Regions from separate parts of the Homo sapiens genome. Here region 2 is linked to region 1. The links are contacts of gene promoters, found by promoter capture Hi-C in blood cells and fetal thymus (Javierre and others, 2016). All regions are on one chromosome and are shown on one strand. The core of a region is centred on a gene start or on the middle of the fragment in contact, and the rest is flanking DNA. Distances in the headings are between cores, read along the strand shown. Region 1 holds the start of MORC2 (MORC family CW-type zinc finger 2). Region 2 has its middle 22 kb from the start of SMTN.

Region 1 (4,740 bases), core at 1-2,500:
TGTTGGATTCCTATAAACACTTGAATGAAACAACTCAACATATTGACTTCAAATAACTAAAGTTTGCATTTAGAAAATTTTGATCCAATAAACAAAAATCAGATTCTTCTGGATTAGCAACAAGTATTTCACTGATCTCAGTTCTTCAATACAGAGCTCAAGATATCCAGTGACACATTTCACTCCAGTGGGATACATCTCAAAAAGTGAAAAAGCAAAATTTTCTGGGGAAACGATTTCCATATAATATCAAGGAACGAGTTACTGGTTACCTCAGTGGCACCTAGAGGATACTTACGAATTTGTGTGCAGATATTCAAAGGTTAGCTGAGCTCGATTCAGACTGCTGTAATTTGTGAAAGCCATGACTGCAATAAGGTCTCCAGCCCTTCACCCGCTAACTGGGAAATATAACCTTATAATGATATCGATTTCCCAGGATTCTGTCCAGTAAAGCTTCAGTAAGTCTGTGCTCCTTAATGACAGTTAAAGTAACCTAGTAGCTATCCAAAATATATGCAGAGATGTTTAAAACTACAATTTCTTCAAGTGTTTTTTTTTAATCTTCTCAATGATTTATGATGTAATATTTTGGAAGGAACTATGTCATAAATCTGTAGCTTTAAGGAGCTTTTAGCATTAAGTTGCGATAGCTCAATTCAGACAATCTGAGTCTCGTGTGGATGGTCCTGAAGGAGATGGTCCTTGAGTGGGTGGTTTATGACTGCTCCATCTTCATGTTCTTCCAGCCTTTTTTGGTTCCCCGAAATTTCCTGTCAGGAAATTTACCAACGCGGAAATTTACCCACTTCTGTCAGAAAACTGATCAGCCATGTCTTCGCCACACGTGATGCCAGGATTCTTAAACAGGCCCAAGACCGGAGACCAAGATGTCGACGGAGTGTTATATGGCGCAAGTTGCAGCTTCACCACCTCCCAAGTGAAAAAGCTCCTAGGCACTCACGATTTCTTTTTTCAAAGCCGGACCAAACCCAGTTCAGGGTGGTGGTCAGATTACCTCACACTTGGCCCACATAAACACCTCACAAATGACCCGCCCACAGCACCTCGGGCAGGCCGCGCCCCGCCCCCACGTCCCTCAGACAACAGCCTCAGCCTCCCAGGCCCTTCCCGGGCCTCGGTCCCGTGGCCGCCTCCCCACGAAGAGGAGCTACTCCCGGCTTCCAAGGACCGGATCGAGGGCAGTGGCGAGCGCACCACCTGACCGGGCACTACCCGGATCTCACAACTGCCTTTGTCCCTCCCCGCGGAATTGGAACCCAACAGCCGCAGAGCGCTCTTGGAACCATGTGCTGCTGCCGCCTCCGCCGCCGCCGCCGCTGCCTCCGCCGCCGCCCGCGCGCCGCCCGCGCGCCGCGCTAGTTGAGATGGTGACAGGATTCAGCAACACGAAATTCGGCGTTTAGAGCTGCTCTGCCGCCGCCGTCACAGACACCACAGCCACCGCTTTGTCTCCGATAGTGCACACAGCCCCGGCCACCTCGCACACTCCCCGACGCCCCAAGCCCCCGAGGCCTCCGCGGAGCATTCAGCCAATCACAAAGCTGCAGCTCCTCCCGCCCCCGCCCTGATGTACAGCCTCCTGATTGGCGGGCTGCGTGTCCCCATGTGACCGGATCTTGGTTGGCCGGTCCCGCCCCTGTCACGTGACAGCGTGCGCCTCTCTTCCTGCTTTCCTGACCCTCTCCGCCATTTAAAGAAACAGTACCGGGGGCGGGCCGAGCGACGCAGCCGGGACGGTAGCTGCGGTGCGGACCGGAGGAGCCATCTTGTCTCGTCGCCGGGGAGTCAGGCCCCTAAATCGAAGAAGCCCTGGCGCGCCCTCCCCCCCTCCCGGGTCTGGTAGGGCGAAGGAACGGGCGTGCGGTCGATCGAGCGATCGGTTGGCGGCTCTTTCTCCTGCTCTGGCATCCAGCTCTTGGGGCGCAGGCCCGGCCGCCGCGGCGCGCGCCCGGTGGCCGTTGGCGCTCGCGCCGCGTCTTTCTTCTCGTACGCAGAACTCGGGCGGCGGCCTATGCGTTTGCGATTCGACGAGGAGTCGTCCGGGTGGTCGGCGGCGGCGGGCAGCTGCTCCGCCCCGCTCCGGGGGAGGCGGCGGCGGCAGCGGCCGCGGGATTTGGAGCGGCCGGGGAGGCGGGGGTGGCCGGGGCCGGCTTGGAGGCCTGGCGCCACCCTTCGGGGCCTGCAAGGACCCAGTTGGGGGGGCAGGAGGGGGCCGGAGGATGGTTGGTTGTGGGATTTCTACTTTGCCTTTTCCTCCTTATGCCGCCTTAGTGAGGGGCGGGAGCTCTGGCGGCAGCCCCGGGGTGGGGAGACGAGCTCCGGAGTCGGAAGAGCTGGGTTTTCTTCCGGGCCTAGCCACCAGTTGGCGGAGTGACCTTAGGCGAGTCACTCTGTAATTTGTCTGCGCCTCAGTTTCCTCCTCTGCCTATCAATGTGTGTGGGGTTGAAATCGCTTTGTAAACTATAAAGCGTGGGTGTACGTAAAGGATGGTTATTGTTTATAATTTTTTTTGAGTTGTAAGAAAACTTAGCAGTTCCCCAATCCTTGGGTTTTGAACCTGGGAACCTTGGATTGGAGTTGGGGATCCCCAAACTTCCTGAAATTGTGGGAATGTGCGGTTTGGGGGAATGATGGGAATTTGTGGGAATGTGCGTTTTAGGGGAATGATGATCCATCGCTAGCAAGTTTTCCAAGGGGGCTGTGACCCAGAAGAGTTAAGAATCACAATTTCTTCATGCTACAGAGAGGAAACTGAGGCCTAGATGTCATTTGGGACCCTTCACAACCATTTTGAAGCCCTGTTTGAGTCCCTGGGATATGTGAGCTGTTTCTATGCATAATGGATATTCGGGGTTAACAACAGTCCCCTGCTTGGCTTCTATTCTGAATCCTTTTCTTTCACCATGGGGTGCCTGAAGGGTGGCTGATGCATATGGTACAATGGCACCCAGTGTAAAGCAGCTACAATTAGGAGTGGATGTGTTCTGTAGCATCCTATTTAAATAAGCCTATTTTATCCTTTGGCCCGTCAACTCTGTTATCTGCTGCTTGTACTGGTGCCTGTACTTTTCTGACTCTCATTGACCATATTCCACGACCATGGTTGTCATCCATTACTTGATCCTACTTTACATGTCTAGGCTGTGTGGTTGGTGGTGAATAGGCTTCTTTTTACATGGTGCTGCCAGCCCAGCTAATTAATGGTGCACGTGGACTTTTAGCAAGCGGGCTCACTGGAAGAGACTGAACCTGGCATGGAATTCCTGAAGATGTTTGGGGTTTTTTTCTTTCTTAATCGAAAGTTAACATTGTCTGAAAAGTTTTGTTAGAACTACTGCGGAACCTCAAAATCAGTAGATTTGGAAGTGATTCAAAGCTAAACTTTTTCCTTGGCCCTCCTTGTGTTCTAATTGCTTGCAAGTGTAATACTAGGATGTCCAAGATGCCAGTTTTTGCTTCTTTGTTAGTTGTCAGCTGCTTTTATCAAATTTCAGGCCATTATCCAACAAACACTATAAAAATGTTTGAACAATTGGATTTCAAACATTTTCGTTTTGTGGAGTGGTGCTCACCAAGTGGTACAGCCCTAAGCAAGTGAACACAAACACATTTAAGTGTATTTTGTCTGATTAGATGTTAGCCAGTTATGCTATTTCATTCAAATGTCTGAAAAAATCAATTGACTATTCCCTTTTCCTAAAGGGCAGAGACAGATAATCTCACTTCCAGAGAAATGACTTGGAGAAAAAAAAGTGTTGGTCTTTTTGCTCTTTTGTAATTAAATCCGGATGTACCTCAAAAGACTTAAGACTGTGGTGATAAGATGCTTTCCTCAGCAGAAAGGAGGGAAAAAAAACAACTGGAACTCAAAGCTTGAAATTCTGTGGCAAAACATGAGATGTCCAGGATTGGAGGTTGAAAAGATTTCACTACAGTGTTCTGCAATAGTTGGAGCAGATAACTTTCAGTGTAGCCACAGCCATGGACTCCAGATTTCCAGATTTTCAAGACCTGGACCTGGAACCCGAAAGAGCTTGTCACGATGCGGCAGGAACACTGGAGGTAGATTTTTTTTTATTTTTGAATTTTGGGACTGTTGACCTTGCTGTGAGAAAAGAGACAACGACTGAGCAAGCACTACCACCAGCACTGTTACTGGGAATTAGAAGACCTGAGTTTCTGTCCAGACCCTCAGTGCAAACTGAGGATGCTCCATCCAAAGTGAATTATGGTACTTGCCATTTTCCAAAATGCCTTATCCTTTACCATCTCTGCACTTTTGTTCATACTCTCATTCTACTTTGGAACTGCTGCTCTGTGGCTTTTCATCTGTCAAAACTGCCATTTTCTCAGTATCCAACTCTTATGCCCTCTTTTCCATGAGTCTCCTAACTAGCCAGAATAGAGCTTTAAAGTTTTATGACATTTCGTTATGTATCCTCTATCTGTATACAAAATCCTGTAAAATAGTTACTTGCCTGCATTTACTGTCTTTGCAGATAGCAGACTCCTTGAAAGCAGGGTCCTTGTTTAGTGCATCTTTGCCCACATACACCACAACATATCAAGATGCATTTATTAGGAAGGAGGAGTTTAGAGAGCAGGCTATCAGAATAACCACTCAGTAAGTGTTTTCTTAATTGCTATGTGATAACTTACATTACTCTTAATGAGGAGAAAAGTCGCTAGATATGGATCATGTTTATGTTTTAATG
Region 2 (4,227 bases), core at 339-2,838, 90 kb after region 1:
TAGGGCAAGTCAATTTCAAGCCTTAGTTATCACATCTGTAAAATGGCACTAAGTTAGAGGGATATTGTCCAGATGACTGTGTCTGGTACATAGTAGCAATAAAAAAGACATTAGCTGGCCAGGCATGGTGGCTCACGCCTGTAATCCTAACAATTTGGGAGGCCAAGGAGGGCGGATCACTTGAGGCCAGGAGTTGGAGACCAGCCTGGCCAACACAGTGAAACCCTGTCTCTACTAAAAATACAAAAATTAGCTGGGCATAGTGGCTTGTGCCTGTAATCCCAGCTACATGGGAGGCTGAGGCAGGAGAATTGCTTGAACCTGGGAAGTGGAGGTTGAAGTGAGCCGAGATCAGGCCATTGCACTCCAGCCTGGGTGACAGAGCGAGATTCTGTCTCAAAAAAAGAGAAACATTAGCTAATATTACCCTCAGCATGGATACTCCTACCAGTCTGATGTTCTGTTTTAGGTACTTCGTACCATCATAACCTCATTGTTGGAGCACTCACTATGTTCCAGGTACTACGCTAAGTGCTTCACAAGCATTCTTTCATTTCATCCTCCCAACATCTCTCAAATAGGTACTAGCACTGTCCTCACTATTCAGGGGAGAAGTCTGCGGTTCAGAGGGGTGAAGTGATTCCTCTAAGACTGCATAACTTGTAAGTGGCAGAGCTAGGACCTGTCAGACTCTAAGCGCTTCATACCACACCTACAGGAAATATCTAGCAGCCAGTTCCATGCTCAGTTTCTTGAAGCATGAGATTCCAGGCCCCTAATATGGCATGTGACTGTGGGCAGTACAGAGGCCTCAATTCTCCCATCTGAACCATGGGGAAGGTCCCCCCGCCCTGAATCCCCTACAGGGCTGAGAGGAGGGCTCTGGAAACCTTGAAAAGGACTTTGTAGACTCTGAGCTGGGCACCCTCAAAGGCTTGGTTAGGAGGGAGACAAGAGAAAGAATTAATCCACTTCCCACCAAGGAAGCCAAGAGCTGAAGGAGAAATGGTCCGTGTCCTCCTCCAGGGCCTGCCCCTCAGCATGGTTCCTCCCTTTGTTAGGAGGGTTAAGAACTTGGCCAAGTCTCAGCTCCACTCATCTCTGGCTGTATGTTCTTTGTACTTCCCCTCTCTGAGTGTCGGGCTTCTCAACTGTGAAATGGGGGTGATAATGATAACAGCCTTACCAGGACTGTAGTAAGGACAAGCCTTGGCCCATTGGTTCATTGTCTTAGTCTGCTCCTGTTGTTATAACAAAATACCTCAGACTCAGTAATATATAAACAACAGAAATATGTTGCTCATAGTTCTAGAGGCTGAGAAATCCAAGAACAAGGTGTCAGTAGATTGGGTGTCAATGAGGGCCTGTTCCTCATAGATGACGTCTTCTATGTCTTTACATGGTAGAAGGGGTGAACAAACTCCCTCAGGCTTCTTTTATAAGGGCACTAATCCCATTTATAAGGATGGAGCTTCATGAAGTGATCGCCCCCAAAAGTCCCACCTCTTAATACTACCACATTGCAGATTACGTTTCAATATATAAATTGGAGGAGACACATTGAGACACATGGATATTGGTTGAATAATTATCTTTCTTTTTTCTTTTTTTTTTTTTGAGACAGAGTCTTACTCTGTTGCCTAGACTGGAGTGCAATGGCACGATCTTGGCTCACTGCAACCTCTACCTCCTGGATTCAAGTGATTCCTCTGTCTCAGCCTCCCAAGTGGCTGGGATTACAGATGCATGCCACCATGCCTGGCTAATTTTTGCATTACTAGTAGAGGCAGGGTTTCACCATGTTGGCCAGGCTGGTCTCAAACTCCTGACCTCAAGTGATCCGCCCACCTCGGCCTCCCAAAGAGCTGGGATTACAGGCGTGAGCCACCATGCCTGCCCTGAATAATTATCTTTTGACACCTGGTCTGCAATTCTCATGGAGTTTCCGGTCTGGAAGAAGAGTCTGTATGTAATGTGTTTGGCACAGGTAGGTGCCCAATGGGTGGGTAGATGGATGGATGGATGGATGGGTGGATGGATGAGATGAGTGACTTACTGCAGGTCTCACAGTTATAAAGTAACTCTTCCTGATAGCTCACACTGGCCACCAAAGACACATTAAGCACTGATTAGAGAGGTACTCCATGGACCAAATTACTTGAGCAAAGTCTTAGAATTAGGAATTATTGCAGCATGGATAAGAGGCATTCATTTTATGTTCTCTTTTAGTATTTTTCCCAACAAGATCCTGAGAAGGAGGATCTGGATGGAGGTTCTGCCAGAGCCCCCTGGAGCAGAGCCAGGAAGTTGAGTAGGGAGTAGCGCCCCACAGCCCATATGAGCAGGCAGGAGCAGGCCAAGCCTGAGGGTCGGGCCTCAGAGGCCTGGCCTGGCCGTATTTAGTTTTCAAGGCACTGGAAGGCTTCTCACCTCCTCTGCTGTCCAGGCACAGAAGCAAGGCCACCCACAGTTGCTGAGTCAGGGAGGCCCCTAGGGCAGGAACAGAGGCCCCACAGTGGGGTAACTTGAACACAGTGGTTCAGAGCCTGGTCTCTGTCAAGAAGATATGGTGCTGGGAACAGTGGTGTGTCCCTGTGGTTCGCGCTCCTCGGAAGGCTGAGGCAGGAGGATAAGCCTAGGGATTCTTGAGCCCAAGAGTTCTAGGCTGTAGTGTACTATATTGATCGAGTGTCTGTGCTAAGTTCAGCTTCAATATGGTGACCTCCTGTAAGCAGGGGTGTCTAAGGAGGGGTGAACAGGCCCAAGATGAAAATGGAGCAGGTCAAAACTGTGCTGATCAGTGGTGGGATTGTGACTGTGAATAGCCACTGCATTCCACCCTAGACAACATAGTGAGACTCTGTCTCTAAAAGTAAATAAATAGGCTGTGCGCAGTGGGCTCACGCCTGTAATCCCAGCACTTTAGGAGGCCAAGGCAGGCGGATCACTTGAGGTCAGGAGTTCAAGACCAGCCTGGCCGATATGGCGAAACCCTGTCTTTACTAAGAATATAAAAATTAGCTGGTCATGATGTCATGTGCCTGTGGTCCCAGCTACTCAGGAGGCTAAGGCAGGAGAATCACTTGAACCCGGGAGGCAGAGGTTGCAGTGAGCTGAGATCACATCACTGCACTGCAGCCTGGGCAATGAGTGAGACCCTATCTCAAAAAAAAAATTAATTAAATTAAATTTAAAAATGTAAATAAATAAGTAAATAAATAAATAAAAGCTGTGGGTTCAAATCCTGCTCAACAACCAATAGCTGTGTGCCTGGCCTACATATCACCTATCAGAGCCTTTGTTTTCTTTATTTGTAAAAACAACAACAAAAATGGCGGTAAAAACAAGCACCATTACTGAGTTGGTTATGTACAAGCCTCTGCTAAGCACCTTACCTGCATTATCTTATTTAATTGTCATCACAATAAACAAGTATTATTATTGTCCTCCTGAAACAAAATACATGAGAACGGTGTCTCTCATCCATGCTGCCGTAATTTCTAACCCAAGCCGCTGCTCATGCAGTCCCATCTACCTGGAGTGTATCTCTTTTTTTTTTGAGACGGAGTCTTGCTCTGTCTCCAGCTGGAGTGCAGTGGTGCAATCTTTGCTCACTGCAGCCTCTGCCTCCCGGGTTCCAGAGATTCTCCTGCCTCAACCTCCCGAGTAGCTGGGATTACAGGCAAGTGCCACCACACCTGGCTAATTTTTGTATTTTTAATAGAGTCGGGGTTTCGCCATGTTGGCCAGGCTGGTCTCAAACTCCTGTCTTCAGATGAGCCACCTACTTCAGCCTCCCAAAGTGCTAGGATTACAGGCATGAGCCACTGCACCCAGCCTGTAACCAACTCTTATGCAACCTTCAGTGTTCAGTGTAAGGTATCCAAAAAGTTACTTCCTGACTGTGAGACCTGGATTTCCAAATGAGGAAGCTGAGTCACACAGGGTGAGATCACATTCAAGTAAGAGACAGAGCTAGAGACCGGGTGCAGTGGCTCACACCTGTAATCCCAGCACTTTGGGAGGCTGAGGTGGGTGGATCACCTGAGCTCGCGAGTTCGAGACCAGCCTGATCAACATGGAGAAACCCTGTCTCTACTAAAAGTACAAAATTAGCTGGGCATGGTGGCGCATGCCTGTAATCCCAGCTACTCGGGAGGCCGAGGCAGGAGAATCGCTTGAACCTGGGAAGTGGATCCCATCTACTCGGGAGGCTGAGGCAGGAGA

The links. Contacts are between HindIII fragments. The CHiCAGO score rates a contact against its expected background, and 5 or more counts as called.
Region 2: a contact is called between a fragment that was not itself captured here and the fragment with the promoter of MORC2 in region 1, in 2 of 17 cell types (megakaryocytes and endothelial precursors). The highest score is 8.4, in megakaryocytes.

The regions. Positions count from the first base shown.
Region 1 is chr22:30,967,524-30,972,263 of GRCh38, forward strand. It overlaps MORC2 (MORC family CW-type zinc finger 2), which reads right to left and starts at 1,251. Exons shown (of 26, transcript NM_001303256.3): 1 at 299-1,251. The coding sequence starts at 366. TUG1 (taurine up-regulated 1) reads left to right here and starts at 1,742. Exons shown (of 3, transcript NM_001396518.1): 1 at 1,742-4,256. The coding sequence starts at 1,834. The coding sequence ends at 2,295. RefSeq lists an enhancer at 1,653-1,982 and a silencer at 2,013-2,262. The HindIII fragment of the contact is 3,441 bases long and covers 455-3,895 here.
Region 2 is chr22:31,057,418-31,061,644 of GRCh38, forward strand. It overlaps the pseudogene RN7SL633P. Among named protein-coding and RNA genes, the nearest start is that of SMTN, 22 kb to the right of the region's middle. The HindIII fragment of the contact is 9,959 bases long and covers 1-4,227 here.